Regions from separate parts of the Homo sapiens genome. Here regions 1, 2 and 3 are each linked to region 4. Evidence: promoter capture Hi-C in 16 types of primary human blood cells and fetal thymus (Javierre and others, 2016). All regions are on one chromosome and are shown on one strand. Each heading gives the region's core, a stretch centred on a gene start or on the middle of the fragment in contact. The rest is flanking DNA. Distances are from core to core; before and after follow the strand shown. Region 1 holds the start of SLC6A16 (solute carrier family 6 member 16). Region 2 holds the start of FUT1 (fucosyltransferase 1 (H blood group)). Region 3 holds the start of KASH5 (KASH domain containing 5). Region 4 holds the start of NTF4 (neurotrophin 4).

Region 1 (7,315 bases), core at 2,667-5,166, 260 kb after region 4:
ATTTTACAAATTTGTAGAAATTAAACAACACACTCTTAAACAACCAATGGATCAAAGAATAAACTACAAGGGGAGTTAGAAAATACTTACAGATAAATGAAAACGAAAACACACATACTAAAATTTATGGGAGGCAACAAAAGCAATGCCAAGGGGGAAATTTATAACTATCAATGGTTACATTAAAAAACAAAAAAGAGGCCGGATGCAGTGGCTCACGCCTGTAATCCCAGCACTTTGGGAGGCTGAGGTGGGTGGATCATTTGAGGTCAGGAGTTCAAGACCAGCTTGACCTACATAGTGAAACCCCATCTCTATTAAAATACAAAAATTAGCTAGGCATGGTGGTGGGCGCCTGTAATCCCAGCTACTCAGGAGGCTGAGGCAGGAGAATCGCTTGAACCTAGGAGGCGGAGGTTGCAGTGAGCCGAGATCACACCACTGCACTCCAGCCTGGGCAACAGAGCAAGACTCCCTCTAAAAACAAACAAACAAACAAACAAAAAAAAACCAGATCTTGAATCAATAACCTAACTCTAAAACTTAAGAAACTAGAAAAGCAAACTAAACCCAAAGCTAGCAGAAGAAAATAATAAAAATTAAAGCAGAAATGAATAGAGAATAGAAAAACAATAGAGAAGCCAAAAGTTGTTTCTTTAAAAATATCAACAAAATTGACAAACCTTTAACTAGATGTACTAAGAAAAAAAGAGAAGACTCAAATGATTAAAACCAGAAATGAAAATGGGGACATTATTACCAATTCTACAGAAATAGAAGGATTATAAGAGAGTACTATGAACTTATGAACAACTGTACACCAATAAACTGGATAACCTAGATTAAATGGACAAATTCCTAGAAATACAAATCTACTAAGACTAAATCACAAACAGAAAATCTGAATAGATCTATAACTAGTAAGGAGATTGAATTGGTAATCAAAAATCTCTCAACAAAGAAAAGCTCTGGACCTGATGGCTTCATGGGTGAATTCTACTAAACCTTTAATGAATTAATATCAATCCTTCTCAAACTTTTCCAAAAAATTGGAGAGGAGGGAACACTTCCTCATTCATCCTATAAGGCCAACATTGCCCTAATACCAGAGCCATACAAAGACATTATAAGAAAAGAACACTACAGACCTATATTCATTATGAACTTTGATGCAAAAATCCTCAAAAAAAATACTACCAAACCTAATTCAGCAGCATATTAAAAGGATTATATACCATGACCAAGTGGGATTTATTCCTGGAATGCAAGGATGGTTCTGCATACAAAAATCAATCAATATAATATACCACATTAACAAAATGAAAGAAAAATAATGATTCTCTCAACTGATGCAGAAAAAACATTTGACAAAACTCAATACCCTTTCATGATAAAAAAAAAAAAAAAAACTCAACAATCTAGGAGTTAAAGGAAAATACGGCTGGGCATGGTGACTCATGCCTGTAATCCCAACACTTTGGGAGGCCTGATGACCACTTGAACCCAGGAGTTCAAGACCAGCCTGGGGCCAGGTGCAGTGGCTCACATCTGTAATCCCAGCACTTTGGGAGGCCAAGGCGGGTGGATCACCTGAGGTCAGGAGTTCAAGACCAGCCTGGCTAACATGGTGAAACCTGATCTCTACTAAAAATACAAAAATTAGTCAGATGTGGTGGTGTGCACCTGTAGTCCCAGCTACTTGGGAGGCTAAGGCTGGAGAATCGCTTGAACCTGGGAGGCAGAGGTTGCAGTGAGCCAAGATCATACCACTGCACTCCAGCCTGGGTGACAGAGCAAGACTCCATCTCAAAAACAAACAAACAAACAAACAAACAAAATTTTTAATTACCTGGGTGTGTTGATGTACTTCTGTAGTCCTAGCTACTCATGAGGCTGAGATGGGAGAATCACTTCAGCCCAGGAGGTCAACGCTACAGTGAGCCATGATGACACCACTACACTCCAGCCTGGGTCACAAAGTGACACCATGTCTCAGCAAAAAAAAAAAAAGGAAAATATCCCAACATAATAGCCATATACGAAAAACTCACAGCAAATGTCATACTTAATGATAAAAGACTGTAAGCTTTTCCTCTAAGATTAGAAACAAGCGTAGAATGTCTAATTTTGCCACTTTTATTCAACATAGTACTGGAAGTCCTAGCCAGAGAAATTAGGCAAAAATATAAATAAATAAAAGGAAACCAAACTAGAAAGATTATATGATCTTATACGTAGAAAATCCTAAAATTTTCACCAAAAAAATTTTTGAGCTAATAAATGAATTCAGCAAAGTAGCAGGATACAAAGTCAACAATCAAAACTCAGTTGCATTTTTATACACTAACAATGAACAATCTGAAAAGAAAATTATGAAAACAATTCCATTTGTAATAGCATCAGAAAGAATAAAATACTTAAGAATTAACTTGGCTGGGCACGGTGGCTCAAGCCTGTAATCCCAGCACTTTGGGAGGCCAAAGTGGGCAGATCACCTGAGGTCAGGAGTTCGAGACCAGCCTGACGAACATGGAGAAAACCCGTTTCCATTACCAAGTTACCCAGGCATGGTGGCACATGCCTGTAATCCCAGCTACTCAGGAGGCTGAGGCAGGAGAATCACTTGAACCTGGGAGGCAGAGGTTGCAGTGAGCCGAGATTGCACCATTGCACTCCAACCTGGGCAACAAGAGTGAAACTCCATCTCAAAAAAAAAAAAAAAAAGAATTAACCAAGAAGGTGAAAGACATGTACAAAGAAAACTACAAAACATTGCTGAAAAAAATTAAAGGAGACATAAATAAATGGAAAAATATCCCATGTTCATGGGTTGGAAGACAACACTGTTAAGATGTCAGTATTACCCAAAGCAATCTACAGAATTAGTAGCTTTTTTTTTTTTTTTTTTTTTTTTTTTTTTTTTTTTTTTTTTTTTGCAGAAATAGAAAAACACGTCCTAAAACTAACATGAAATCTCAAGGGACCCTGAACAGCCAAAATAATCTTGAAAAAGAAGAAAAACGCTGGTGTACTCACATTTCCTGATTTCAAAACATATTACAAAGCTATAGTAATCAAAATAGTGTGTTACTCACATAAAGATACAGACCAAGGGAACAGAATAGAGGGCCCAGAAACAATGTATGGAAAAATGATTTTTTACAAGGGTGCCAAGACTACTCAATGAGTAAAGGACAGTCTTTTCAACAAATGGTGCTGGGAAAACTGGATTATGTACAGGCAAAAGAGTAAAGATGGACTCTTACCTAACACCACATACAAATACACAAAATAAATCAAAGACCTAAATGTAACACTTAAAATTATAAAATTCTTAGAATAAAACATACGACAAAAGCTTCATGATAGTGGATCTGCAATGAATTCTTGGATATGATACCAAAGGCAAAAGCAACAAAAGAAGAAACAAACAGGATTTCATTAAAATGTTTTAAATTTGTGCATCAAGAGACACTATCAAAGGGGTGAAAAGATAACCCACAGAATGGGAGGAAATATCTGAAAATCATATGTATAATAAGAGATTAATATTCAGAATATATAGAGAACTCGTAAAACTCAACAACAAAGAAACAAACAACACAATTCAAAAATGGGCAAAAGACTTAAATAGACATTTCTCCAAGGAAGATATACCAATCTCCAAGAAGTACATGAAAAGATGTTCAACGTCACTAATCATTAAGGAAATGCAAATGAAAACTACAATGAGATAATACCTCGCATCCATTAGGATGGCTAATATAAAAAGGCAGAAAATAAGAAGTGTTGGTGAGGATGTGGAGAAATTGGAATCCTTGTGCCTTGCTGGTCAGAATGTAAAATGGTGCAACCACCATGGAAAACACTATGGTGGTTCCTCAAAAACTTAAAAATAGAATTACCATATGATCCAGCAATTCCACTTCTGGGTATACACCCAAAATAAGTGAAAACCAAGCCTCCAGTGGCTCAGCCTGTAATCCCAGCTCTTTGAAAGGCTGAGGTGGAAGGATTGCTTGAGCCCAGAAGTTCGAGGCTGTAGTGAGAGGTGATCATGCCACTGGACTCCAGCCTGGGAGACAGAGAGAGACCCTGTCTCTTAAAAATAATAATAATAGGCTGGGCACGGGGGTTCACACCTGTAATCTCAGCACTTTAGGAAGCTGAGGCGGGTGGATCGGCTGAGGTCAGGAGCTCGAGACCAGCCAGGCCAACACAGTGAAACCCCGTTTCTACTAAAAATACAAAAAATTAGCTGGGGGTGGTGGCGCACGCCTATAGTCCCAGCTACTTGGGAGGCTGAGGCAGGAGAATCGCTTGAACCTGGGAAGCAGAGGTTGCAGTGAGCTGAGATCGTGCCACTGCACTCCAGCCTGGGTGACAGAGTGGGACTCCATCTCAAATAAATAAATAAATAAAAAATAATAGATTCATGTTTCTTAAACACATTCTAGAACAGTTGTCCTTAAAAGCAAGCTTTACGGAAGGGAGAGAACTGAGTTTTGGCCAGCTGGCCACTTCCAACATCCATAAAGCCCCTTGAGCCCCAGGCGGACTCCTCTTCCCATATGGGTGCAACCCTCCATGGTGCCCCTACACCGTCATCCCAAGCAACTCCTAGGCTCATGCCCTGTGGGGAGTGCTCAGGATCCCCCAGAAATGCCCATTCCCCTCACATTACCTCCTTCCCTGGAACTATAACCTCCAGAAAAGGAAAATAAGGAGCTGGTGTCCCATTTCTGCAAAAAGCAGAAAATAACTGCCCTAACAGACCAGTGATGGGGCTAGACCCGGGTTTCTGCCACTCGGGCACTTGACACTGATGGCTTTCCCCAAAGGCAGGGACTGATGGCCGAATCCTGTCAAGGAATTGGCTCAAACTCGGACTGGATGAGTGAGGAGAGCCGAAGACAGTTTCCTCTGTCCTACGTGGGGGGTAAAGGAGGGACCCCTTTGATCCCTCAGCTCCACAGAGCCCAGGGCAACCAGGAGGCTCCCAGCCAGTCACCTGTCACCCGTCAGTGGAGCCCAGTGGGCCCGGGCCTCGAAAATGGCGCCCAGCCCCACACACCCCAGATGTGGGAACATTTTAGGGCTCCCTGGGCCGTGACCCTCACCCTAGCCCCAAGGCTTCTGCCAGGTTCTTCAGTCCAGCCAGTCGGACAAAAATGAGGGTGAAGAAGCCCCAGCTGAGAAGCCTAGCAATCTCCTCAGGCCCCTTCAGGCGTCGACAGATCGGTTTGGGCGACACCCCTCGATCTGCCTGGCGCGCGGCCTTTCCCGCCGATTCTCTGCGCATGCGCCGCCGCGCCCCCTCACTCTTTCCCTACAGCTGTAGCAAACACTGTAACCACTTCGCCCTCCCCAACTCCCTGCTCTCTCCCCACACGCACGCACGTGTGCACATCCTCTGACTGCTCACGCGCCACTCCCTTCCCCACCGCACCCCACCCCGACACCCACGATGCCACGCTTCAGGCGGGGCTCTAAGACAAGGCCTTTCTCTGGCACATGCACTTTGCTTCCACTTCATGTAAGGAAGAAGAGGGTAGGAAGTGGGAGAATCGTCTCATTCATTCCTTCTAGCCTTCAAACCTTTCGCATTTACTTAAAGATCGCCTACTAGAAACCAAACCTTAAATATGCGTCCAACAAGGCAGACAGGGACGTTGCCTTAAGAGAGCTCAGAAGCCTACTAGGGCTGCAGACAAGAATTAAAAACTCAAAGATTTACTTAGGTCATCCGTTCTCATACTTTCCGGTCTCTTAAGAATTATTAAGGACTCCAATAATTTATGAGTTACATTTATATGGGTTGTATGTTTATGTGAGTTGTATCTATCAATATTAAAATAAATTTCTAAAATAGTCATTGTTTAAAAATTCATTATGTGTCAAAATAACATTTTTATTTAAAATAACTATAATTTCTACTCCAAAAGAAATTTTGGCGCTGGGCGCGGTGGCTGACGCCTGTAATCCCAGCACTTTGGGAGGCCAAGGCGGGTGGATCACGAGGTCAGGAGTTCGAGACTAGCTTGGCCAACATGATGAAACCCCGTCTCTACTAAAAGTCAAAAAAAAAAAAAATTAGCCGGGCGTGGTGGCACACACCTGTAATCCCAGCTACTCGGGAGCCTGAGGCAGGAGAATCGTTGGAACCCAGGAGGCAGAGGTTGCAATGAGCCGAGATTTTGCCACTGCACTCCAGCCTAGACAACAGAGCAAGACTCCGTCTCAAAAAAAAAAAGGAAAAAAAAGAAAAAATTTGGGGAGAAGAATGGCATCATTTTACATTTTTGCAAATCTCTCTAATGTCTGGCTTCATAGAAGACAGCTGGATTCTCATATCTGCTTCTGCACTGAGTGTGTCAAAATAGCTCATGTCTTGTAGCTTCTGGCAAACATCACTATATTCAAAGAGGAAATGAAAGTGAAAGGCAAATAATATCTTAGTAGTATTATGAAAATAATGTTCACCTCATGGACCCCCAAAAGTGTTTCAAGAGCCCCCAGGAGTCCCTGAGCCACACTTTGAGAATGAAAGGCTTAAATTGTTATGATTGAACAAAGAGATGAAGAGGAAATTTTGGGGGTGCTGTAAGAATTCATCACAATCTTTGGGAATCATTCAATCTTTCAACACGTATTTATCGAGAGTCTACTAAATGCTAGGAACTGGGAATAGTGTAGAGAACAAAACAGACCCCATTCCTGCCCTCGTTTTGCTTCACACAACAAGAAAACAGATATATGATGAATCTCAAATAATTACATGATTATAAATTGTATTAAGTGCTATGACAGGCCGGGCATGGTGGCTCACGCCTGTAATCCCAGCACTTTGGGAGGCCAAGGTGGGCGGATCACATGAGGCCAGGAGTTCAAGACCAGCCTGGCCAACATGGTGAAACCCCATCTCTACTAAAAATACAAAAACGAGCCAGGTGTGGTGGTGCACGCCTGTAATCCCAGCTACTCGGGTGGCTGAGGCACAAGAATCACTTAAAACCATGAGGCAGAAGTTGCAGTAAGCCAAGATCACACTACTACACTCCAGCCTGGGTGATGGGGTAAGACCCTGTCTCAAGGAAAAAAAAAAAAGTGCTGCGACAGAAAAGGGCCACAGACCTATTTATTTCTATCGAATTTTTTTTTTTTTTGAGACAATCTCACTTTGTCACCCAGGCTGAAGTGCAGTGGCATAATCTCGGCTCACTGCAACCTCTGCCTCCCGGGTTCAAGCAATTCTCCCTGCCTCAGCCTTCCGAGTAGCTGGGGTTGCAGGTGCCTGCCATTACGCCTGGTTAAT
Region 2 (6,865 bases), core at 3,204-5,703, 310 kb before region 4:
CCTCCAAAAAACAGCAAGGGGCTCCTGAGATCTCGACAACCCCGTCCACCTTGGCCAGACCTCGTGCTCCTGCCTGGATCTGAGGCTGGGTCCAGGGTCTGCCTACCTTTAGATCGTTTTATCTCAGACCTGCCCAAAGCCAGATGTAGTGGTTCTGGGAGTTCAGGGACAGACAGTGGTTAGCAATGAGCACGGTACCTGCCAGTTTGTCACAAGCACAGAGGGTGTGTTTATACCTGCACACTTCCAGAAAACAGATCCCAGACCCTCAGCAGCCCACCTGCAGACAAAGACCAACTTCCTTCATTGTGAGAGGCAACCTGAACTCACACCCAATATATGGAGCTCTTGGCAGTTTATGAGCTTTAAAAAAAAGTGTCCCTGGATCCCTGGAAAGTTCTGCTCCAGAAGCTGTACCATTTTGGCAGTGATCCCTCACCCCACGTTCACATTTTAGCCTGTCTGCTCAAAACAAACAAAAAAAAGTCTTTGAGGGGCTGTGGGGCTTGTTGGACAGAGTCCCGCTCTGCTCACCAACTACCCCAGCTTTTCCAGAGACTGTGAACAGAGCAAGACGCTGGCCAACTAGAGATGGTTTGTTTTCCATCTCAATTTTTCCAGCAATGGTGGAACATTCATTAGATGCTACAATTAGGTTGCACATTCATTAGATTCTTCACTTGGCCCGGTGTGCTGGCTCACATCTATAAACCCAGCATTCTGGGAGGCCAAGGTGGGAGGACTGCTTGAGCCCAGGAGTTGAAGAACAGCCTGGGCAATATCACAAGACCTCGTCTCTACAAAAATTAAAAAAAATTATCCGGGCCAGGCATGGTGGCTCACGCCGGTAATCCCAGCACTGTGGGAGGCCGAGGTGGGCAGATCACGAGGTCAGGAGATCGAGACCATCCTGGTTAACACGATGAAACCCCGTCTCTACTAAAAATACAAAAAAAATTAGCCGGGCGTGGTGGCGGGCGCCTGTAGTCCCAGCTACTCAGGAGGCTGAGGCAGAATGGCATGAACCCGGGAGGCAGAGCTTGCAGTGAGCTGAGATCGCGCCACTGCACTCTGGCCTGGGCTACAGAGCAAGACTCCGTCTCAATAAATAAATAAATAAATAAATAATTAAAAAAAAAATATCCGGGCTGGGCACAGTGGCTCATGCCAGTAATCCCAGCACTTTGGGAGGCCAAGACAGGTGGATGACAAGGTCAGGAGATCGAGACCATCCTGGCCAACATGGTGAAACCCTGTCTCTACTAAAAATACAAAAATTAGCCAGGCATAATGGCCTGTGCCTGTAGTCCCATCTACTCAGGAGGCTGAGACAGGAGAATCGCTTGAACACAGGAGGCGGAAGTTGCAGTGAGCCAAGATCACGCCACTGCACTCCAGCCTGGGCAACAGAGCGAGACCCTGTCTCCAAAAAAAAAAAAAAAAAACTAAAAAGATTCTTCACCTTAGTTATCTGGATTTCCAGAACCCCATCCTGTCCATAAGGGCCCTGCAGGGTTCTTCACAGGCATCAAACCTGGTCCTCTCTAGAACAAGTCTCCCTCTAGAATCACTCCAGAAACACAGAAGGGGACTTGGTGAATGCTTGCTCTGGAGCAATCATATGCTCCTTCAGTCTTTGGAGGACCCAGGGGAGAAGTAACCCCTCTTCTAGAGTAGACCAGAGGGAGAGTTCCCCATTCCTGGGGGCAGCCATCTGGAAGTACTGTAGATATGGGCTGGGAAGAGCAGGTGGGCACTGTGGCTTCTAGAACTGCCTGCCAGCCATCAGGAAAAGATGTTTTGCTAGTTCTAGAATATTCAGACAGTTCCAGAAACGTCCCCCTTCTCTCCAACTCTCCCAACTAGAATCACTCTGGATACGGGCACCCATTTGCTTCAGGAACACCACAAGCTTCTCCAGAAGATGCCAGGCCTCTGAAGCCACGTACTGCTGGCTCTAGAAAGATCAGGCTACTTCAGAAAGTCTCCCTGGCTCTCAAGGCTTAGCCAATGTCCAGAGTGGAGACAAGTCTGCATTAATGCCCACCCACTCGGGCAGGAAGGCCGCCTCCGGCTTAAAGATCTTCAGGAACTCAGAGTCTGGCAGGGTGAAGTTGGCCAGGTAGACAGTGTCTCCGCCAGCCAGGTAGGCAGCCCAGAAGCCGAAGGTGCCAATGGTCATAATGGTGTGGTTGCACTGTGTGAGCAGGGCAAAGTCTTTCCACGGTGTAGCCTCCTGTCCATCGCCAGCAAACGTCACATCGCCCTGGGAGGTGTCGATGTTTTCTTTACACCACTCCATGCCGTTGCTGGTGACCACGAAAACGGGGGCTTCGTGCCGTGCCCGGAACCAGTCCATGGCCTGCCGGAGGTAGGCGCTGTCGCCCACCACACCCTTCCAGCGCTGAGGCATAACCTGCAGATAGTCCCCACGGCGCACGTGGACGCCGACAAAGGTGCGCGGGCGGTCCCCTGTGCGGCCCAGGCGGAGCTGACCCAGCACACTCTGCGCCTCTTCCCGAAGGTGGTCGTGCAGGGTGAACTCTCTGCGGATCTGTTCCCGGAGATGGTGGAAGAAAGTCCAAGAGCAGGGGAAGCCAGAGAGCTTCAGGAAAGGATCTCTCAAGTCCGCGTACTCCTCCGACATCCAGTCGTGAAGCTGCAGCTCCCGCCACGGCGTGCGGCTGTCCACTTCTGGGGCCAGCACGGGCAGGGTGATGCGGAATACCGGGGCCAGGGCGGCATGCATGGCAGGCAGGATAAAGGCCCGGCGGCCGTTGAGCTGGGCCAGAGCCAGCAGCGTGGCATACTGTCCCATCTGATTACCAAACCGGCCATTGGGGTAGACAGTCCAGGTGCCGGAGAGGGAAGCAGGGTGCTGGGGACAGGAAGAGGAGGCGTTGGGGCCCATCGCAGTACCCGGCAGGCAGAAGATGGCCACTGGGGGTGTCACCAGGCGGCGGTCTGGACACAGGATCGACAGGCCTAGGCCATGTGGAAAGCTGTCTTGATGGATATGGAGGAAGAAGATTACAGAGAGGACACAGACTAGCAGGAAGGCCAGGCAGAGCTGACGATGGCTCCGGAGCCACATGGCTGCAGGGGAGGAAAGGCGAATTAGCAAATGCTCTGAGGCTGAGGAGGGGAGGCTGAGGAGGGATGTGGGGTAAGGGAGGCGCCTGGGGTGCAGCACTCCTTAGTCCCAGGGAAAGAGGAAGTTAAAGGTTTAGACTCCTGGGGCTGAGGTAGGGAGAGCCTGAGTCCTAGGTTTCAGGGATGAGAGCCTTGGAATTTCGGGGCATGGGGACTGGAAGACAAGTGGTTTTCAAGATAGCCATGGTTTGGCTGGGCACTGTGGCTCACACCTGTAATCCCAGCATATTGGGAGGCTGAGATGGGAGGATCCCTTGAGCCCAGGAGTTCAAGATCAGCCTGGGCAACAGAGCACTCTTACAAAAAAATTTTAAAATTAGCTTGGCATGGGCCAGGCGCGGTGGCTCACACCTGTAACCCCAGCACTTTGGGAGGCCAAGGTGGGTGGATCACCTGAGGTTGGGAGTTCGAGACCAGCCTGACCAACGTGGAGAAACCCTGTCTCTACTTAAAATACAAAATTAGCCGGGCATGGTGGCGCATGCCTGTAATCCCAGCCACTCGGGAGGCTGAGGCAGGAGAATCGCCTGAACCCGGGGGGCGGGAGTTGCGGTGAGCTGAGATCATGCCATTACACTCCAGCCTGGGCAACAAGAGTGAAACTCCGTCTCCAAAAAAAAATAAATAAAATTAGCTTGGCATGGTGGCACATGTCTGTGGTCTCAGCTACACCGGATGCTAAGGCGGGAGGATCCCCGGAGCTCACAATGAGCCGCGATAGCACCGCTGACTGCACTCCAGCTTGCGCGACAGAGAGGGACCCTGTCTTAAAAAAAAAAAAAAAAAAAAAAAAAGAAAGTGGTCCAGGTTCCTACACCTTTCCTGAAGGAATCTCGAGTCTCCCCTCCTGTAAGTTCCGCTGATACTGGACTCTTCCACCAGCCTGTTTCTCAGGAGTACCTGTCTGTGAGGCGCAAAATCCACCACAGAGGTGGTGATGGGAAACGATAGTTCAAGTAAAACAAGAGAGGCTGGAGGGTCAGGAGCGGAAGGAGCATCTTGGTTCCTGGAGGAGTAATGGCTGGGGAGGTGGCGGAGATTCCTAGGGCCTTAGGAAGACCTGGAGAAGAGGTTGGGGGTGCACCTCCTGGTTCTGAAGGAGTTGTTCCTGGGTCCCAGGAACAACTGAGTGGGGCAGTCCCCACTTACCCGAGCTGCTTGCAGGTGGCAGATCCACAGTCCGCTTTTCGTGGCCGGAGCGCACCCTCCGCAAAGGCAGGCCACATCCGGCCGCCCCTGGAACGCCAGGCGTCCGGCTATCCGGCCCGGCAGCCCTCCCCTCCGCGCAGCCTGTCCGGACTGGCAGCGAGGGCTTGGGGAGGAGAGGAAGGAGAGGGCGCGGCCGGGAGTCTCGCAGCGTCCGCCCTCCCGGGCCGGGCGGATGGCTGGAAGGTGGAGCCCCGCCCGTCACTTGGCGCCGAGCCCCAGCGCCAGGGGCTAAGGCGATGGCCCCTGGGCCCACCGCTCCCCAGATCGGGGATGCAGGGGACCGCGCCCTGCCCCTCCGCCCCGTCATTGACCTGCGCGAAGGCTTCACCCAGGGCAGGCTACCTGGCTTCTGAGCAGCCGCAGCATCATTGCGTGGACCAGGAGACGGAGCGCCCAGTTGCAATGCTGGAGCCGGGAGGTCCAATCCGCCGCCCTCTCTCTTCCGGTGCCAGGGCTTAGAGTCGGCCCCCGACACCTGGGTGCTTCGAGCCTGGCCACGCCCCAGCGGCTGGGCAGGGCCCCCGCACCTGGTCCCGGCGAGTGGAGCGATCGTCCGCCCTCTGCCGCGTCCTCCTGGGGGATGGAGAACCTGTTTGCCAGGCTGCCGCCGGAGCGCGCGAGGGCCTCCAGCCTGCAGGTGCTCCCGCGCCCACCAGGGTCTCCGATCTCCCACACCCCCCGCCTCACCGTCCACACTCAAATTCCAGAATCCCAGCCCCTAGTCACTCCTTTTGGGGAATTCTAGGGTCCCGTGCCAAACTGCTACTTTCCAGACCTGCACTGCACGAAGGCAACCATTCCAAGGCTGGAGACCGGAGTGGAACAGGGTCTGTTTCCCACGCCGTCAGCGGGGGCCGTGGCTGCCGGCGCCAGAGACAAAGGCCTCTGCCCGCTTGTCACCTAATTAAAGCATTTTCTCTGGTCCAAGGCCCACCTCCAGCATCGCCAACCCCGAGCAGGGCAGGCTAACGTAGGGTCCAGCCCTACGGGGCTTTGCGGGTGGGTGTTCTTCCCCTGTGAGGAGAGGAGAGATTGTAAGAAATAAAGACACAAGACAAAGAGATAAAGAGAAAACAGCTGGGCCCGGGGGACCACTACCATCAAGACGCAGAGACCGGTAGTGGCCCCGAATGGCTGGGCGCGCTGATATTTATTGTATACAAGACAAGGGGGGGCAGGATAAGGAGGGTGAGTCGTCCAAATGACTGATAAGGTCAAGCAAGTCACGTGATCATGGGACAGGGGGCCCTTCCCTTTTAGGCAGCCGAAGCAGAAAGAGAAGGCAGCATATGTCAGCGTTTTCTTCTCTGCACTTATAAGAAAGATCAAAGACTTTAAGACTTTCACTATTTCGGGCGGGCGCGGTGGCTCACGCCTGTAATCCCAGCACTTTGGGAGGCTGAGGCGGGCGGATCACAAGGTCAGGAGGTGGAGGCCATCCTGGCTAACACGGTGAAACCCTGTCTCTACTAAAAATACAAAAAATTATCCGGGCGCGTGGTGGAGGGCGCCTGTAGTCCTAGCTATTTGGGAGGGTGAGGCAGGAGAATGGTGTGAACCCAGGAGGCGGAGATTGCAGTGAGCCGAGATCACGCCACTGCACTCCAGCCTGGGGGACAGAGCGAGACTCCGCCTCAAAAAAAAAAAAAAAAAGGCTTTCACTATTTCTTCTACCGCTATCTACTACGAACTTCAAAGAGGAACCAGGAGTACGGGAGGAAAATGCAAGAGGACAAGGAGCGTGACCATTGAAGCACAGCACAGCAGGATGACTGCGGGCAGGCCTAGATAATACCCAGCCTCCCACAAGAAGCTGGTGGAGCAGAGTGTTCCCTGACTCCTCCAAGAAAAGGAGATTCCCTTTCGTGGTCTGCTGAGTAACGGGTGCCTTCCCAGACACTGGCGTTCCCGCTTGACCAAGGAGCCCTCAAGAGGCCCTTATGCCGGTGTGACAGAAGGCTCACCTCTTGCCTTCTAGGTCACTTCTCACAATGTCCCTTCAGTACCTGACCCTATACCCACCGGTTGTTTCCTGGTTATATTAGTTATACAACAAAGAATAAAAGTAATAGCTAATGATTAATAATGTTTACACTAATGATTGATACTGTCCATGATCATCTCTATATCTAATTTGTATGATAACTATTCTTATTCTAACTATTTTCTTTATTATACTGAAACAGTTTGTGCCTTCAGTCTCTTGCCTCGGCACCTGGGTAATCCTTCCCCACAGACTGACCCTCCCATTCAAGATACATCAATGTCAAAGACTCAGGAGTTTGACTTGATTCCCAGAAGTTTAACCATCATCTCCCCAGGCTCGGGACTCCCAGCACCCAGACCCTTCTGCTCACACCCAGCAGTCCAGGCCCCCAGACCCTCCTCCCTCAGACTTAGGAGTCCAGGCTCCCGGCCCCTCCTTCCTCAGACCCAGGAGTCCAAGCCCCCTGCCCCTCCTTCCTCAGACCCAGGAGTCCAGGACCCCAGCCCCTCCTTCCTC
Region 3 (7,366 bases), core at 2,397-4,896, 320 kb after region 4:
GATCTCAGCTCACTGTACCCTCCACCTCCTGGGTTCAAGCAATTCTCCTGCCTCAGCCTCCTGAGTAGCTGGGATTACAGGCACATGCCACCACATCTGGCTAATTTTGTATTTTTAGTATAAACGGGCTTTCACCATGTTGGCCAGGCTGGTCTTGAACTCCTGACCTCAGGTGATCCACCCAACTTGGCCTTCCAAAGTGCTGGGATTACAGGTATGAGCCACCACGCCAAGCTACTCTTTTCAAATACACATGAAGCATTTGCTAAAATAGATGAAATCGTGGACTATAAAGCAAATCTCAACAAATGTCAAAGAAATGAAATCATATAGAGTATGTTTGTATGTTTTCTGACTACAGTGAATTAAGTAGGAAGCAATAATAAAAAGATAGCAGGGGGCCGGGCGCAGTGGCTCACGCCTGTAATCTCAGCACTTTGGGAGGCTGAGGCAGAGGAATCACAAGGTCAAGAGATCGAGATCATCCTGGCCAACATGGTGAAACCCCGTCTCTACTAAAAATACAAAAAAAAAAAAAAAGTTGGCTGTGGTGGTGCGTGCCTGTAGTCCCATCTACTCAGGAGGCTGAGGCAGGAGAATCACTTGAATCCAGGAGGCAGAGGTTGTAGTGAGCCCAGATCACGCCACTGCACCCAACCTGGCGACAAAGCGAGACTCCGTCTCAAAAATAAATAAATAATAAAAAGATAGCAGGGAAGTCATAAAATATTTGGAAAGTAAGCAATATATCTCTAAAAATTATCACTCAGGTCAAATTAGAAAATATTTTGAATTGATAATAATGGAAACGTGGCCAGGCATGGTGGCTCATGCCAATAATCCCAGCACTCTGGGAGGCTGAGGCAGGCAGATCACTTGAGGTCGGGAGTTCGAGACCAGCCTAGCCAACATGGAGAAACCCCCATCTCTACTAAAGATACAAAAATTAGCCAGGTGTGGTGGTGCATGCCTGTAATCCCAGCTACTCGGGAGGCTGAGGCAGGAGAATCATTTGAACCCAGGAGGCAGAGATTGCAGCGAGCCAAGATTGTGCCATTGCACTCCAGCCTGGGTGACAGATCGAGACTCTGTCTCAAAAAATAATAATAATAATAGAAATGTGGCATAACAAATGTGTCAAGTGTAGCTACAGAAGTTTTTAGAAGGCAAATGATGGCTCTAAACGCATGTATTAGAAGAGATCTTTAAAAATCAAATGACCTGGCTGGGCACATGACCTGGCATCAGCACGGTGGCTCACGCCTCTAATCCCAGCACTTTAGGAGGCCAAGGCAGGCGGCTCACCCGAGGTCAGGAGTTCAAGACCAGTCTGGCCAACATGGTGAAACCCCGACTCTACTAAAAATACAAAAAATTAGCCAGGCATGGTGGGGCACGCCTGTAATCCCAGCTACTCAGTAGGTTGAGGCAGGAGAATCGCTTGAACTCGGGAGGCACAGGTTGCAGTGAGCCAAGACCGCACCACTGCACTCCAGCCTGGGTGACAGTGAAACTCCGTCTCAAAAAAAAAATCAATGGCTTAATAACCTAAAAATATCAGTGACCTAAGCATTCACCTCAAGAAGTTGGGGGGAAAAAGCTGGAAAAAGAACAGCAGATCATGCCGGGCGCGGTGGCTCACGCCTGTAATCCCAGCACTTTGGGAGGCCGAGGCGGGCGGATCACGAGGTCAGGAGATCGAGACCATCCTGGCTAACACGGTGAAACCCCGTCTCTACTAAAAATACAAAAAATTAGCCGGGCGTGGTAGCGGGTGCCTGTAGTCCCAGCTACTCGGGAGGCTGAGGCAGGAGAATGGCGTGAACCCGGGAGGCGGAGCTTGCAGTGAGCCGAGATCGCCCCACTGCACTCCAGCCTGGGCGACAGAGCGAGACTCCGTCTCAAAAAAAAAAAACAAAAAAACAAAAAAAAAAACAGCAAGATCAGGGGCTTGAGGGCACATGGCTGTAGTCCCACCTACTCAGGAGGCTGAGGTGGGAGGATTACTTGAGCCCAGGAGGTGGAGGCTGCAGTGAGCTAGGGTCACATTACTGCACTCTATCCTGGGTGAGAACCTGTCTCAGAAAGAGAGGAGGGGGGAGGGGAGGGGAGGAAGGGGAGGGAGGAGGGGAGGCAGTGGACGCGGAGGGGAAGGGAGGGGAAGGGAGGGGAAGGGAGGGGAAGGGAGGGGGAAGGGAGGGGAAGGGAGGGGAGATAAAGGGAGGGGGAGGGGAAGGGAGGTGGGAGGGGAGATGAGGGGAGGAAAGTGGGGGGAGGAGAGGAGCAGAGGGGAAGAGAGGGGGAGGGGAGGGGAAGGTACGGGGGAGGGGAGATGAGGGGAGGGGAGTGGGGGAAGGGGAGGACAGGAGCAGAAGGGAAGGGAGGCGGGAGGGGAGGGGAAGGTACGGGGGAGGGGAGATGAGGGGAGGGGAGTGGGGGAAGGGGAGGAGAGGAGCAGAGGGGAAGGGAGGGGGGAAAAGAGAGATGGCACAAATTATTAATATCCGTCACCACAGATCTTACAGATATTAAAAAGATTGGGCATGGTGGCTCATGCCAGTAACCCCAGCACTTTGGGAGGCCAAGGTAGGAGGATCATTTGAGGGCAGGAGTTCGAGACCAGCCTAACATAAGACCGTGTTTCTCCCCCTCCAAAAAAAGACAATATTATGAACTTTATGCAAATTATTTGAAATTTTAGATAAAATGGAAAAATTCCTTGAAAACCACAACTTACCAAAACCACAACTTACCAGAAATAAAATAGAACATCTGAATAGTTGTATTTTTATAAAAGAAATAGAATTTGTAATTTAAAGTCTTTCCACAAAGAAAACTCTAGGTCCAGATGGCTGGTGACTTCTTCCAAACACATAAAAAATAAATAACATCAATCCTACACTAGCACTTTCAAAGAATAGAAAAAGAGAGAACACTTCTCCACACATTATATCAGCATAGCCTTGTTAACAAAACTCAACAGGGATCTCACAGAAAAGAAAAGAAAAGAAAATATGGCAATACATAAAAAGGACAGGCCAGGCGCTGTGTCTCACGCCTGTAATCCCAGCACTTTGGGAGGCCGAGGCGGGTGGATCGCCTGAGGTTGGGAGTTCGGTACCGGCCTGGCCAACGTGGTGAAACCCCGTCTCTACTAAAAATACAAAAATTAGCCAGGTGTGGTGGCGGGCGCATGTAATCCCAGCTACTCGGGAGGCTGAGGCAGGAGAATTGCTTGAACCCGGGAGGCGGAGGTTGCAGTGAGCTAAAATTGTCCCACTGCACTCCAGCCTGGGCGACAGAGCGAGACTCCATCTCAAAAAAAAAAAAAAAAGAAAGAAATGGGGGACGGACAAGGAGTCTCTCAGTTCAATTCCCCCTTCCTCAGCCCATTTCACCAAAGCCTGAAGCGGAAGAGAAAAACACGAGCCCCAGCATGGCGGGCGCAGCCACCCCCTCCTTCCACCACCAGACAAACTCCGTGGCCACAGCCCACACCGCCAGCGCGCATGCGTGACACGCGTCGGCCGCCGGTTTGCACCTGCGTCTTAAGAGGAGTCCGGGCGGGGAGGGGCGGGGCTCAGACGCTGCGCACGCGCACTCGCGACCCCTCGCCTCCTTTTGCTTTTTCTGGCGGGAAAAGCTCACGCGCACCTCCCCCAACTCAACTGCCGTTCGTCGTTCGTGGATGTCCGTTGTGTCCCGAGACTAGGACGTGGCTCCAGGTGCGCCCTGCCCCGCGGCGAGGTTCCCAGAATGGCCCTTCCCAGCCCCTACCGAAATCCTAGCGAAGCCCCCCCATATTGTGGGAGAGATACCCCTGCGTCAGGGCCCCCCAGATCCTGACCACTTGGGAGGCCGAGGCGGGCGGATCACGAGGTCAGAAGATAGAGACCATCCCGGGGAAGTGAAACCCCGTCTCTACTAAAAATACAAAAAATTAGCCAGGCGTAGTGGCACGCGCCTATAATCCCAGCTACTCAGGAGGCTGGGGCAGGAGAACTGCTTGAACCTGGAAGGCAGAGGTTGCAGTGAGCTGAGATCGCGCCACTGCACTCCAGCCTGGGTGACAAGAGTGAGACTCCGTCTCAAAAAAAAAAAAAAAAATCCTGACCACATCCCCTCAGATATACTGAAAGGAGTCCACCAGGAAATCTTATAGTTGACCCCCGAAATCCTGTCAGAATCGTCTAGAAATTGTCAGACTTCTCCCTCAGAGCCTGCCAGAAACTTTCCCCAAAATCCTATTACTCTCCCCAGATCAGCAGAGCCACCTAGACTCGTGTCAGAGATCCCCAGAAATCCTGGCAGGTCCCCTCCCAAACCCAGTCGGACCTCAGATTCCGTCAGAGAGCACAGAAGTCCATCAAAGACACCCCAGAAACGGAGACCCCGAAATGCACTCAGAGACCCCCGCAGAAATCAAGACCCTCCAAATCCAGCCAGAGACCCCCAGAAATCCAGTCAGACCCCTGCAGAAATCAAGACCCCCAAAATCCAGCCAGAGACCCCCAGAAATCCAGAGACCCCCGCATAAATCAAGACCCCCAAAATCCAGAGACCCCGAATAAATCAAGACCCCCAAAATCCAGTCAGAGAACCCCCAGAAATCCAATCAGACCCCCGCAGAAATCAAGACCCCCGAAATCCAGCCAGAGACCCCTGAAATCCAGTCAGAGACCCCCACAGAAATCAAAATCTCCAAAATCCAGCCAGACACTCCCCAGAAATCCAGTCAGAGACCCCCCCAAAATCCTGTCAGAGCCCTTGAAAGCCCGCCAAGGCCCACACCACCCAGAGCTCCTGCCAGGGCCCCATCCTGCTTCAGTGTCCCCGTCTCAGTCCCGTCAGACCCCCGAGATCAACCAACACCCCCGGGGTCCCTCAGGACTCCATCCCGAACCCACTCCGTGCGCCAGGGCCCAGCCAAGGCCATCGCCCCCCTTTGCACCCTGCAGGGTGTTCCAGACCCTGGAAGGGCCTCTCTTCAAAGACCCGTGTTTCCAGAACGGTGGCAGCGGGCTCACGTGGCTTGGGGAGAGCAGGCACTGGGGGAGCTGGGTGAGGACAGGCGAGCCCAGGCTCGACTGGTGGCCCCAAGGGGCGCCCGTGCCCGCTGTGATGATAGCAGCGCCCAGGTCTCTCTCTAGCCCCCAGAGTGCGGCCACTAAGGTTTTGGGTCGGCCTGGGTGGAATGGAGGCAGGATGGGGCCCCCCAAACTCCTGTCACTGCTGCAGGGACTGCCCAGAGCAGCTGCAAGTGGGGCTGGCAGGGATGAGGAGGAGGTGGCCTGGGCTTGGGGGACCATGTACATCCTGAGTTGGAACCCAGGGGAGCAGCAGGTTTGGGGCCATGATGAGGAGAGACCTAGGGGTTGCCCGACGGAGAGAAAAGGGACAGGAAGAGGCAGGAGCTTCAGAGACTACTCAATGCCACTCTAGCCTGAGGGACTGGAACTTAGTCCGGGGGCATTAGGGAGCCATGGGAGGATCAGGAGCAGGGGCAAGTCAGGATCAAACTCCCATGAGAAGCCAGCCGGCCAAATCCAGGCTGATGTGGCAAGAATGGCAGCTGCCCAGGGCTGTGTGGGAGCCAGACACGGCCCCTCGCTTCCCGGAAGAGGCCACGTGAAGCCGAAGCAGGATGCAGGAGGGCGTCCCAGGCAGAGACCTGGGCATGGGAGCGGTCCGCAGCTCAGAGTGGCTGGAGCATCATGTGCGATTTGGGGTGCTGAGGTGGGCGGTCAGCCATGCAGGGCCTTGGCGTCAGGGCCAGGGTCTCACCCGTACCCAGGATTCAGGGAGCCATGGAAGGGTACTTAGCAGGGGAGGGGCAGGTCAGCTCTGGGGCCCTGTGGGGACAGACTGGAGGACAAGCCTGGGGATAGGAGGCTGGGACAAAGGCCAGGGAAGAGGACCAGGCAGCCTGGACCGGCGGCAAGCCATGTGAAGAAAGGGAGGCAGTGACCTCCCCCACCCACCCACTAGCCCCTTTGATGTCAGCCACCTCGTTCTCCAGCCCACACCTCCAATCCATAAAACAGGTCAGAGCGGAGCTGCTCAGGTCACAGCGGGGGTGACAAACAGGTTGTGAGGACCCAGAGGTCCTGGGGCACAGGTGGGGCTAGGCAGGCCCCGACCCTTGGTGGCTGCTCTGAGGACACCATTTCCTGCTTCTCCTTCCAGGAGTGCTCGGGCCAGCTGGTCCTTTTCCCATCCCTCCCCATGAAGGAGGGAGGCTGGTAGCTTTGCCAGCAGCTGCGCCGCGGCAGGGGTGGCCCATGGACCTGCCCGAGGGCCCGGTGGGTGGCCCCACTGCGGAAAGTAAGTGGCTGGAACCCTATTTGCCCCGGGGAGGGTGAGGAGGGAGCCATGGGTGAATGGGTGCCAGGCTGTGACTCGGGGACTTGGGAGAGGTGGCTGGGGGTGGCTGAGCCTTTGCATGGGTGCAGAGTGGAAGGGAGGGAAGGGACTCTGGTAGATTAAGTGCCTACTCTATGCCCGCCCACCTGTCACTACCCCTTATCTCCTGTGGGGAGGCTGGACTGTGTGAGAGCGCAAGCAGCCGCACCCCTTACTCCATTCAGATCGCGGCCCAGATGGCACTTCTTACTTTATGTAAAGCAGCTGCCCTGTGACACTCTCTCCCCTGCCCCGCTTCATTTCTCTTCACAGTGCTCACATCTGTATGTCATGTTTTGTCTCTGTCTCCCCTGCTAGAGCATGAGCTCCACAAGGCAGCGTCTGTTTTATTCACTCTGGTATTCCCAGTCCCTAGAGCAGCGCTGTCCTGTGGAAGTATAATATGAGCCACATAGGTAATTTATTATTTTTTAAAAGAAAAAAGGAACAGGTGAAATGAATGTTGATAATGGATTTTCCTTATATAGCCAGACTAATACCCTGTATATTATATATGTATACAGGATATACATACATAGAGATATATATATGTATATAGCCAATATATAGCCAATATAAAAAATGTATCCAGATAATCTGTTTTTTTCATACTAAGCCCTAAAGATCTAGCGTGTACTTTACACTAACAGAGCATTTCAGTCTACACTCGCCTCAGTTCAGGTGCTCCAGAAGGAGAGACTGCCCTGTTGGCTGGGACCCCAGAGCAACTCCTGACTCACTGTGGGAGCTCACTTACTGTTGAGTGAACGGACGGATGTAGGTTGAACGGGTGTGAAAGCTGGCTTCAGAGGGTGGGGAGGAGGCACTGGGGTTGCCTCTCTGAAACTCATCTGCCAAGTGAGAGAGCCCAGTCTGATGGGGATGGTAGGGCCCCTTTCTTAGAGGCTCCCAGGCATCCACGGCACAGCCTGCGTCTTTTTCTACAAAGCCCCAGACCTCAGGA
Region 4 (7,483 bases), core at 1,668-4,167:
GGGGCAATGTTGAGGGTGGGGGTTGGGACTCAATTGGCACACTGGGGAGGAGGAAAAGGAGGAGGATGGGGAGGGAGCATGAGGGGAGAGGGAGCATCTCTCGGAGCACCTGGAGACAGAAAGAGGGAGGCTGGGATTAGAGAAGGGGGTAAAAACTTCAGTGGGGAAAGAAGTTGGGAACCCCAGGGGAGGCTTGCCTGCCAGGATTGTGGGGAAGCCCTTGTTCTAGAAGTTTGGGGGACCCTATATCTAGGGCTTGCGTAATGCGCAACTTGTAGATTAATAATAAATATTCAACTACTACAGGCCAGGCACTGTGCCCCACACCTCTAATCCCAGCACTCTGGGAGGCTGAGGCAGGTGGATGACTTGAGGTCAGGAGTTCCAGAGCAGCCTGGCCAACATGGTGAAACCTCATCTCTACCAAAAATACCAAAATTAACCGGGCATAGTGCTGCACGCCTGTAATCCCAGCTACTCAGTAGGCTGAGGCAGGAGAATCACTTGAACCCAGGAGGCCGAGGTTGCAGTGAGCAGAGAGTGCACCACTCCCCTGCCACCTGGGCGACAAGAGTGAGACTCTGTCTCAAAAGTAAAAATAAGGCCAGGCATGGTGGCTCACACCTGTAATCCCGGCACTTTGGGAGGCCGAGATGGGCGGCTCACCTGAGGTGAGGAGTTCCAGACCAGCTTGGTCAACATGGTGAAACCCCTTCTCTACTAAAAATACAGAATTACCCGGGTGTGGTGGCGCATGTCTGTAATCCCAGTTACTTGGGAGGCTGAGGCAGGGCAATCACTTGAACCCAGGAGGTGGAGGTTGTGGTGGGCTGAGATTGAACCATTGCACTCCAGCCTGGGCAACAAGAGCGAAACTCCGTCTTAAAAAACAATAATAATAATAAAATAAAAATAAAAATAATTCAACTACTATTACTTAACAGTAACAGATGTTGAAATACAGGCTCAGAGAAGTTAATGATTTGTGCCCGGTCACACAGCCAGCAAATGGCAGAGATGGGACTTCACCTCTGGGCAACTGCACTCTGCCGTCCTTCCTGTGCAACTCTGAGGAACCGACAGTCTTGCATCTTGGAGGATGTTCCAAACAATTTTTTTTTTTTGAGACAGAATCTCACTCTGTTGGCCAGGCTGGAGTACAGTGGCACAATCCTGGCTCACTGCAATGTCTGCCTCCTGGGTTCAAGTGATTCTCCTGCCTCAGCCTTCTGAGTAGGTGGGATTACAAGCACCTGCCACTGTGCCCAGCTAATTTTTGTATTTTTAATAGAGATGGGGTTTCACCATGTTGGCCAGACTGGTCTTGAACTCCCAACCTCAAGCAATAGTCGTGTCCTGGCCTCCCAAAGTGCTGGGATTACAAGCATAAGCCACCATGCCTGGTCCCAAACAAAATTTTTTTTTTTTTTTTTTTGAGATGGAATCTCCCTCTGTCGCCCAGGCTGGAGTGCAGTGGCACGATCTTGGCTCACTGCAAGCTCCGCCTCCCAAGTTCATGGCATTCTCCTGCCTCAGCCTCCTGAGTAGCTGGGACTACAGACTCAAGCCACCACGCCTGGCCACATTCCACAATTTAGAGAAAGGTCACAACCTGGAATCCTAGGGAGACCCCAGTTCACCTCAAAACTGCCACTAAGGAGGTAAAACGCTGCCCCTCTGAGGCAGGCTTCAGTTTCCCTGTGTGTGAAATTGACCTGGCGCTGGGAGAGGCTGGTGGAGGCGCGGATTTTGCAGTTTCCCTACAACATTCTGGAAGCCTGTGGTTCTGGGAAAGGGTGGCGTGGAGAAGACTGGGAAACAGTCAGTAGTTACCAGACCTGTCAGCACCTCCTCCGCCTCGGAGCTCTGGGGCTGGGAGTCCCCAGGCTTCGGGGGGCCCCTGTGGAGGACACAGGTGGCCCCCTCCTTCCTGACATCTCAGGAGAGGGAGGGGGCAACCACCTAGGGGAAGAAAAGAATAGACAGGTTATAGAGGCAGGTGGGGAAGGGGCCAAATCCCTGAACAACCCCTTCCCAGAGTTCCTCTTCAAGTGCAGGGTACCCAAGAGTCAAGGCCCCGCCCCCTTTCCAGAGGCCCCTTTTCTACCCAGGTGATGGCTCCTGGCTGGGATGGGAAGCAGATGGAGGGAGGGGAAGGGAGAATAGGGGAAGGGAGAGGCAGTGGATGAAGGAGGCTGGAAGAGATTACATCCCCCTCGGCCCATTCATCTCCCAGATGGGGCGGAACTGGCCTGGACACCCGGGTCCCTGAGGGCCCACACTCAAGAAGCCCTGGTTCCCCAAGCTGCTTCCTGGAATGTTCCCTCCTCACAGGACAGGCCAGGGCCCGCCCAAGACTTCTGCACATACCTGGAGTGGCTGCCTGCCCTGGCTCCTCGGTACAGGAAAGGGGAAGGGTGGAGAGTGAAAGGAGCCCAGGCTGACCCAACCAGGACCGCCTTCTCCCTCAGACCGAGTAGTGCAGACCCCAGGGCCTCCACCTTCAGACCCAGGAGTTCAGATCCCCAGCGCCCTCCTCCCTCAGACCCAGGAGTAGTCCAGGCCCCCAGCGCCCTCCTCTCTCAGACCCAGAAGTCCAGGCCCCCAGCACCCTTCTCCCTCAGACCCAGGAGGAGTCCAGGCCCAGGCCCCCAGCACCCTTCTCCCTCAGACCCTGGAGTCCAGGTCCCCAGCGCCCTCCTCCTTCAGACCCAGGAGTCCATGCCCCCAGCGCCCTTCTCCCTCAGACCCAGGAATCCAGGCCCCCAGTGCCCTCCTCTCTCAGACCCAGGAGTTCTGGAATTCAGGCCCCTCCTTCTCGGATACTAAGAAATGCAGACTCCGGGTTCCTCATCCTCCAGATTTGGGTTGGGGGTTCCGGACTCCGAGACCCCTCAGGGGAAACCGGCTGCATATCTGGGACACTTCCCTCTTGCCTCAGTTTCCTCCGCCAAGCCCCGCCCCGGTCGGCCCCGCCCCCGTCCCTCCCCACCCGAGGGCAGGGCGACCAGGACGCCGGAATCCCGAGGGAGGAGGAGTGGAGATCTTACCTGGGGCGCCCTCTTCGGCTCCCGCGGCTGCCCTCCGCCCGGCAGCAGCTCCTCCTCCTGCTCGCTGGCTGCAGGGACGCTCGCTGGCCCGCCGGGTGCTAGCTGCTCACGCTCCGCAGGGCCCGGGTCGGGGGCGGGGGCGGGGCGGCGCCGGGCGGCAGAGGAGGGGCCGGGGGATCCTGCCTTGCACTCGCGTGCCGGGACCTTGGAAGCCAGGCCTGGCTCGTTCAACGCGGCCGCCTTGGTCACAGGAGTCCCAGTTTCCAGCTGCCTCCTCCTTTGGACCTAGCAGTCCAGGCCCCCAGCCCCTCCTCCCTTCAGACCCAGGAGTCCAGGCATCCGGCCCCTCCTCCCTCAGACCCAGGACTTGCGACCCCAGCCACCTCTCCCCCCAGCCCCAGGCGCCTGAGTACTAAGCCCACAGTTCCCCCCACCACCTCCCAACCCCGCCCCGTCTCAGACTCAGGAGTCCAGCCCCCAGCCTCCTCCTCCATTAGCCCCAGGAGTCTGGGCCTGAGATTCCTTTGCCGTCTTTTGCCAATTGCGTGTCAATCCCGGGGCAGATTCCCACCCTCTGCTCTCCTCCCCACTTCCCAGGAGCTCCACGCCAGACATTAACCAGCTGGGCTTGGGCAGTGATAAGGCCCCAGGCCCGGGGAGACAGTGGATGTGGGGGCTCCCGCATACTCCTCTCCCCTGGAATTTCCTGGCTGGGGACCGGGGAGAAGGTCTTGTCCTGAGCTCAGATAAGAGACGTGCAAGGTATCATAGGACCAGAGATAGACAGATGTGTCTTAAGAACAATCAGCTACCTTGAGAAATGGTGCGCGGTGACATGAAGGGAGAGATAGGGAGAAGACATGGAAAAGTGGGGAGAGACCAAAAGAAAGAGGGGGACCGAGACTAGAGAGAGTGGGGGAGGGCAGGAGCCCAGAGAGAAGACAGAGGCCCAGAGAGCGTGAGGGCAGACCCCCCCACCCCCCCGAGAAGGGGACAGAGCCCCTGAGAGACCCTGAGAAAGACAGGGATGGGACCGGAGCCGGAGTGTCTCAGGACAGTCATGAGGGCAGCGGGGCTCCTCACCCCACCACACCTCTACCCTGAGACTCCGCTCCCCTCCGCCTGCGCTATTTTCAGAAGGAAAACTGACACCTGCCTCGAGGGTCATCCCACACCCCCTCAGCCTAAATATAGCATGGCAAGGTGGCAGGAGGGTGTCCCCGGTTAGGGTGTTTCCTGCTCCTCACCATCCCAGCCAAGGCAACACACAAGGCCGCTCCAGTTATTTATTGGGGGTGGGGGGAAGGGCCACTTCCCAGGCTTTGGGTGTGCATTCAGGTCACCTCTCCGGCTTCTCCACCCTTCCCCTGTTCCTAAACAGCCAATACATCCTGCCGCATAGCAGGAGGACTCTAGCTTCTAGCTTCTAGCTTCTAGTCCTGGAGGGGATAGTAGGGATGAGGTTTCCAAACAGAGTGACTGGGAAACAGTCTCTGTCCCCCTATCTCCAGGTCTCTGTTCCCCTCCCTCTGGATTTCTGTCTCCCTCCAACTCTGGGTCTGTCCTTCTCTCTCTGAGTCTCTGTCCCCCTCTCTCTCTGGGTCTCTGTCCCTCTCTCTCTGGGTCTCTGTCCCCCTCTCTCTCTGGGTCTCTGTCCCCTTCTGTCTGTGGGTCTCTGTCCCTCTCTCTCTGGGTCTCTGTCCCCCTCTCTCTCTGGGTCTCTGTCCCCTTCACTCTCTGGGTCTCTGTCTCTCTCTCTGTCTCTGGATCTCTGTCCCCCCTCTCTCTGGGTCTCTGTTCCCCCCCAGGTCTCTGTCCCCCCTTCTCTCTGGGTCTCTGTCCCCCTCTTTCTAGGTCCCAGTTTTCTTCTCTCTGGATATCTGTCCACCCTCTCTGGGTCCCAGTCTCCTTCTTGCTGAGCCTCTTGCATCCTCTCTCTTGGGGTCACTGTCTGCTTCTCTTTCCCCTCGTGGGGGTCTCTGTTCCCGCTCCCGGCCATCTGCCCTCTTCCCCCTTGCCCTTGGATTTCTCTCTTTTGCTCTGTGCCTCTCCTCCCTCCTGGCCTCAGTTCCTGTCTGTGTCTCCTCTTTAGGTCTCTGTGCTGGAGTCCAACCTGTCTCTTGTCACTGTGAGGTCCGTCTCCATTCTGTCCCTAAATCTGGCTTTCTCTCCATTTCAGAGAGAAGTGACTACCTAAAGCTTCTATTAATTTCAACCATTATCAAACTCCTCTCACCATCTGTACCTTCTCTTTAGCTGTATGAAAAGGTGCTCAGATGAAACCAGGGGTTTCCACACTGAATTCCTGAGCTGCATTTTGAGTTGCCAAGAGGAGGCGTGTTCTCCTCCAACCAGTTCCCTTCCCATGCTTCCCACTGGTGTCTCTAAGGAAGATTTATTTGACCCAAAAAAGGGGTGGGTATGGCTAAAAATAACAACAACAGTCTGTAAACCACTGGATAGGTTTTAATAAATTAACCCAAGTAAAGTACTTTGATACCAAAGGAAGCCCTATATGTGTTAGTGATTTCAGCCTTCTTCCTCTAAATGCCCTTTGAGTTCTGAAAGATTTCTGAAAATGTTCGGCCTTGTGACCTTGGGTAACACCTGCTGCTCTGAGCCTCAGTTTCCCCGTCTGTAAGAAATGAGGCTACGGGACTCAGGAGGACCCGTGTGTCCCAGCAGGCTGATGGGGACATGTGAAGCAGACAGACAGCCTGCCTGGCCCCTGGGGACAAGCTGTGAGACCTTGGGAAGCCACTCCCCTGCTCTGAGACTCAGGTTTCTCCCCTGGAAAACAGAGTGAGGCCCCCAGCCTGTCTGACAGCCTTCCTGAGCTGCAGGGAGGGTAGGTGACAGGCCTGGTTCAGGATTGTTCTGTGATTCTATGGAATAGACTGTACATCACTCTTGGGTTCAGGGGCACCAACTTTTTCTGGCTTTTTCTTTTCTTTTCTTTTTTTTTTTGAGACAGAGTGTTGCTCTGCTGCCCAGGCTGGAGTGCAGTGGCGCAATCTCGGCTCACTGCAAGCTCCGCCTCCCAGGTTCATGCCATTCTCCTGCCTCAGCCTCCCGAGTAGCTGGGACTACAGGTGCCCGCCACCGCACCCGGCTAATTTTTTTGTATTTTTAGTAGAGACGGGGTTTCACCGTGTTAGCCAGGATGGTCTGGATCTCCTGACCTCGTAATTTGCCCACCTCGGCCTCCCAAAGTGCTGGGGTTACAGGCATGAGCCACCGCGCCCGGCCTTTTCTGCCTTTTTCTATTGTGGTTCTCTTTCCCTGAGACTCTGTTGTTCTGTCTCCAACTCTGGGTGTCTGACGCTGCCCTCTGGGTCTCTGTCCCTCCCTCCCCCACTGGCTCTTTTTGTTTGTTTGTTGAGACGGGGGCTCCCTCTGTTGCCCAGGCTGGAGTGCAGTGGTGCAATCATGGCTCAATGCAGCCTCTACCTCTCAGGGTCAAGGGATCTTTCTGCCTCAGCTTCCTGAGTAGCTGGGATCACAGGCATGTGCCACCACACTCAGCTAATTTTTGTATTTTTTGTAGAGATGGGGTCTCACCATGTTGCCCAGGCTGGTCTTGAACTCCTGGCCTCAATCAATCCCCCTTCCTCGGTCTCCCAGAGTGCTGAGATTACAGGCATGGGCCACTTCGCCCGGCTTCTATCCCCTGCTCTTGGTCTCTGTCTCCCCACTCTGGATTTCTGTTCCTCTCTTCTGCGTCTCTGCCATACCCCACCCTCCAGGTCATTGTCTCCCTCTCCCTGAGTCTCTGTTTCTCTCCCTTTGGGTCTCTGTCTCTCTGGGTTTCCACCTCTTCCTTTTTCTGGGTCTCTTTCTCTATCCTTTTGGCTCTGTCCCTCTATCATGTCTGGACAGAGTACAGTTTTCTCCCCCTCTCCCCTTTCCCTTGTGGCTCTGACCTCCATGTCTGAGCATAAAACTGTAGGGGAGAATGGGAGTGAACAGCACAATGAAGTGGATGTGGGGTAAACAGGAGGAGCATCCACCTCTTCCTAATTTACCCAGTCGCCTCTGGATGAACACCCAATCCCATGGATACAGAATCCAGTCCCGCCCCCTACAGCGAGCTGGGGAGCCAGCTCGGCACACCTCCCAGAGCCCTCGCCACTGCATGCTCCCAGATACATGATGCTTCCCCACTGCTATTTCCTTTGGGTCCTGGTGCTACCACTAAATGCAAAACAGCCCGATGTGGCCCTATGGAACTCGTTCGCACAGTCCAACTCAACCCAACTTCCTGTAGGACTCACATAGTGACACAACTCAATGGAACTCAATTCAGCATGGCCCTATGAGACTCAAACAGTGGCATGACCCAACTGAACTGGCCTTACAAGGCTCATATGGTTGTACAATTCAACACAACTCAACTCGCTGTGGCCACGAAAAATGTCCAGCCACACACCTCT

Evidence for each region. Contacts are between HindIII fragments. The CHiCAGO score rates a contact against its expected background, and 5 or more counts as called.
Region 1: a contact is called between a fragment that was not itself captured here and the fragment with the promoter of NTF4 in region 4, in 1 of 17 cell types (endothelial precursors). The highest score is 6.0, in endothelial precursors.
Region 2: the fragment with the promoter of FUT1 here is called in contact with the fragment with the promoter of NTF4 in region 4 in 1 of 17 cell types (neutrophils); the score reaches 5.3 in neutrophils.
Region 3: a contact is called between the fragment with the promoter of KASH5 here and the fragment with the promoter of NTF4 in region 4, in 1 of 17 cell types (erythroblasts). The highest score is 5.7, in erythroblasts.

The regions. Positions count from the first base shown.
Region 1 is chr19:49,319,928-49,327,242 of GRCh38, forward strand. SLC6A16 (solute carrier family 6 member 16) reads right to left here and starts at 5,264. Exons shown (of 12, transcript NM_014037.3): 1 at 5,121-5,264. RefSeq lists an enhancer at 6,428-6,577. The HindIII fragment of the contact is 1,121 bases long and covers 3,357-4,477 here.
Region 2 is chr19:48,748,188-48,755,052 of GRCh38, forward strand. FUT1 (fucosyltransferase 1 (H blood group)) reads right to left here and starts at 4,454. Exons shown (of 2, transcript NM_001384359.1): 1 at 4,303-4,454; 2 at 1-3,096. The coding sequence starts at 3,094. The coding sequence ends at 1,997. RefSeq lists enhancers at 2,811-3,450, 4,656-5,242, 6,559-6,865 and a silencer at 4,491-4,540. The HindIII fragment of the contact is 14,557 bases long and covers 1,911-6,865 here.
Region 3 is chr19:49,384,603-49,391,968 of GRCh38, forward strand. KASH5 (KASH domain containing 5) reads left to right here and starts at 3,647. Exons shown (of 20, transcript NM_144688.5): 1 at 3,647-3,725; 2 at 6,187-6,324. The coding sequence starts at 6,282. LOC101928295 (a long non-coding RNA gene) reads right to left here and starts at 3,479. Exons shown (of 3, transcript NR_110729.1): 1 at 2,754-3,479. The HindIII fragment of the contact is 10,613 bases long and covers 1-7,366 here.
Region 4 is chr19:49,061,901-49,069,383 of GRCh38, forward strand. It overlaps NTF4 (neurotrophin 4), which reads right to left and starts at 2,918. Exons shown (of 2, transcript NM_006179.5): 1 at 1,839-2,918; 2 at 1-109. The coding sequence starts at 97. It overlaps KCNA7 (potassium voltage-gated channel subfamily A member 7), which reads right to left. Exons shown (of 2, transcript NM_031886.3): 2 at 5,497-7,483. The HindIII fragment of the contact is 7,079 bases long and covers 1-5,247 here.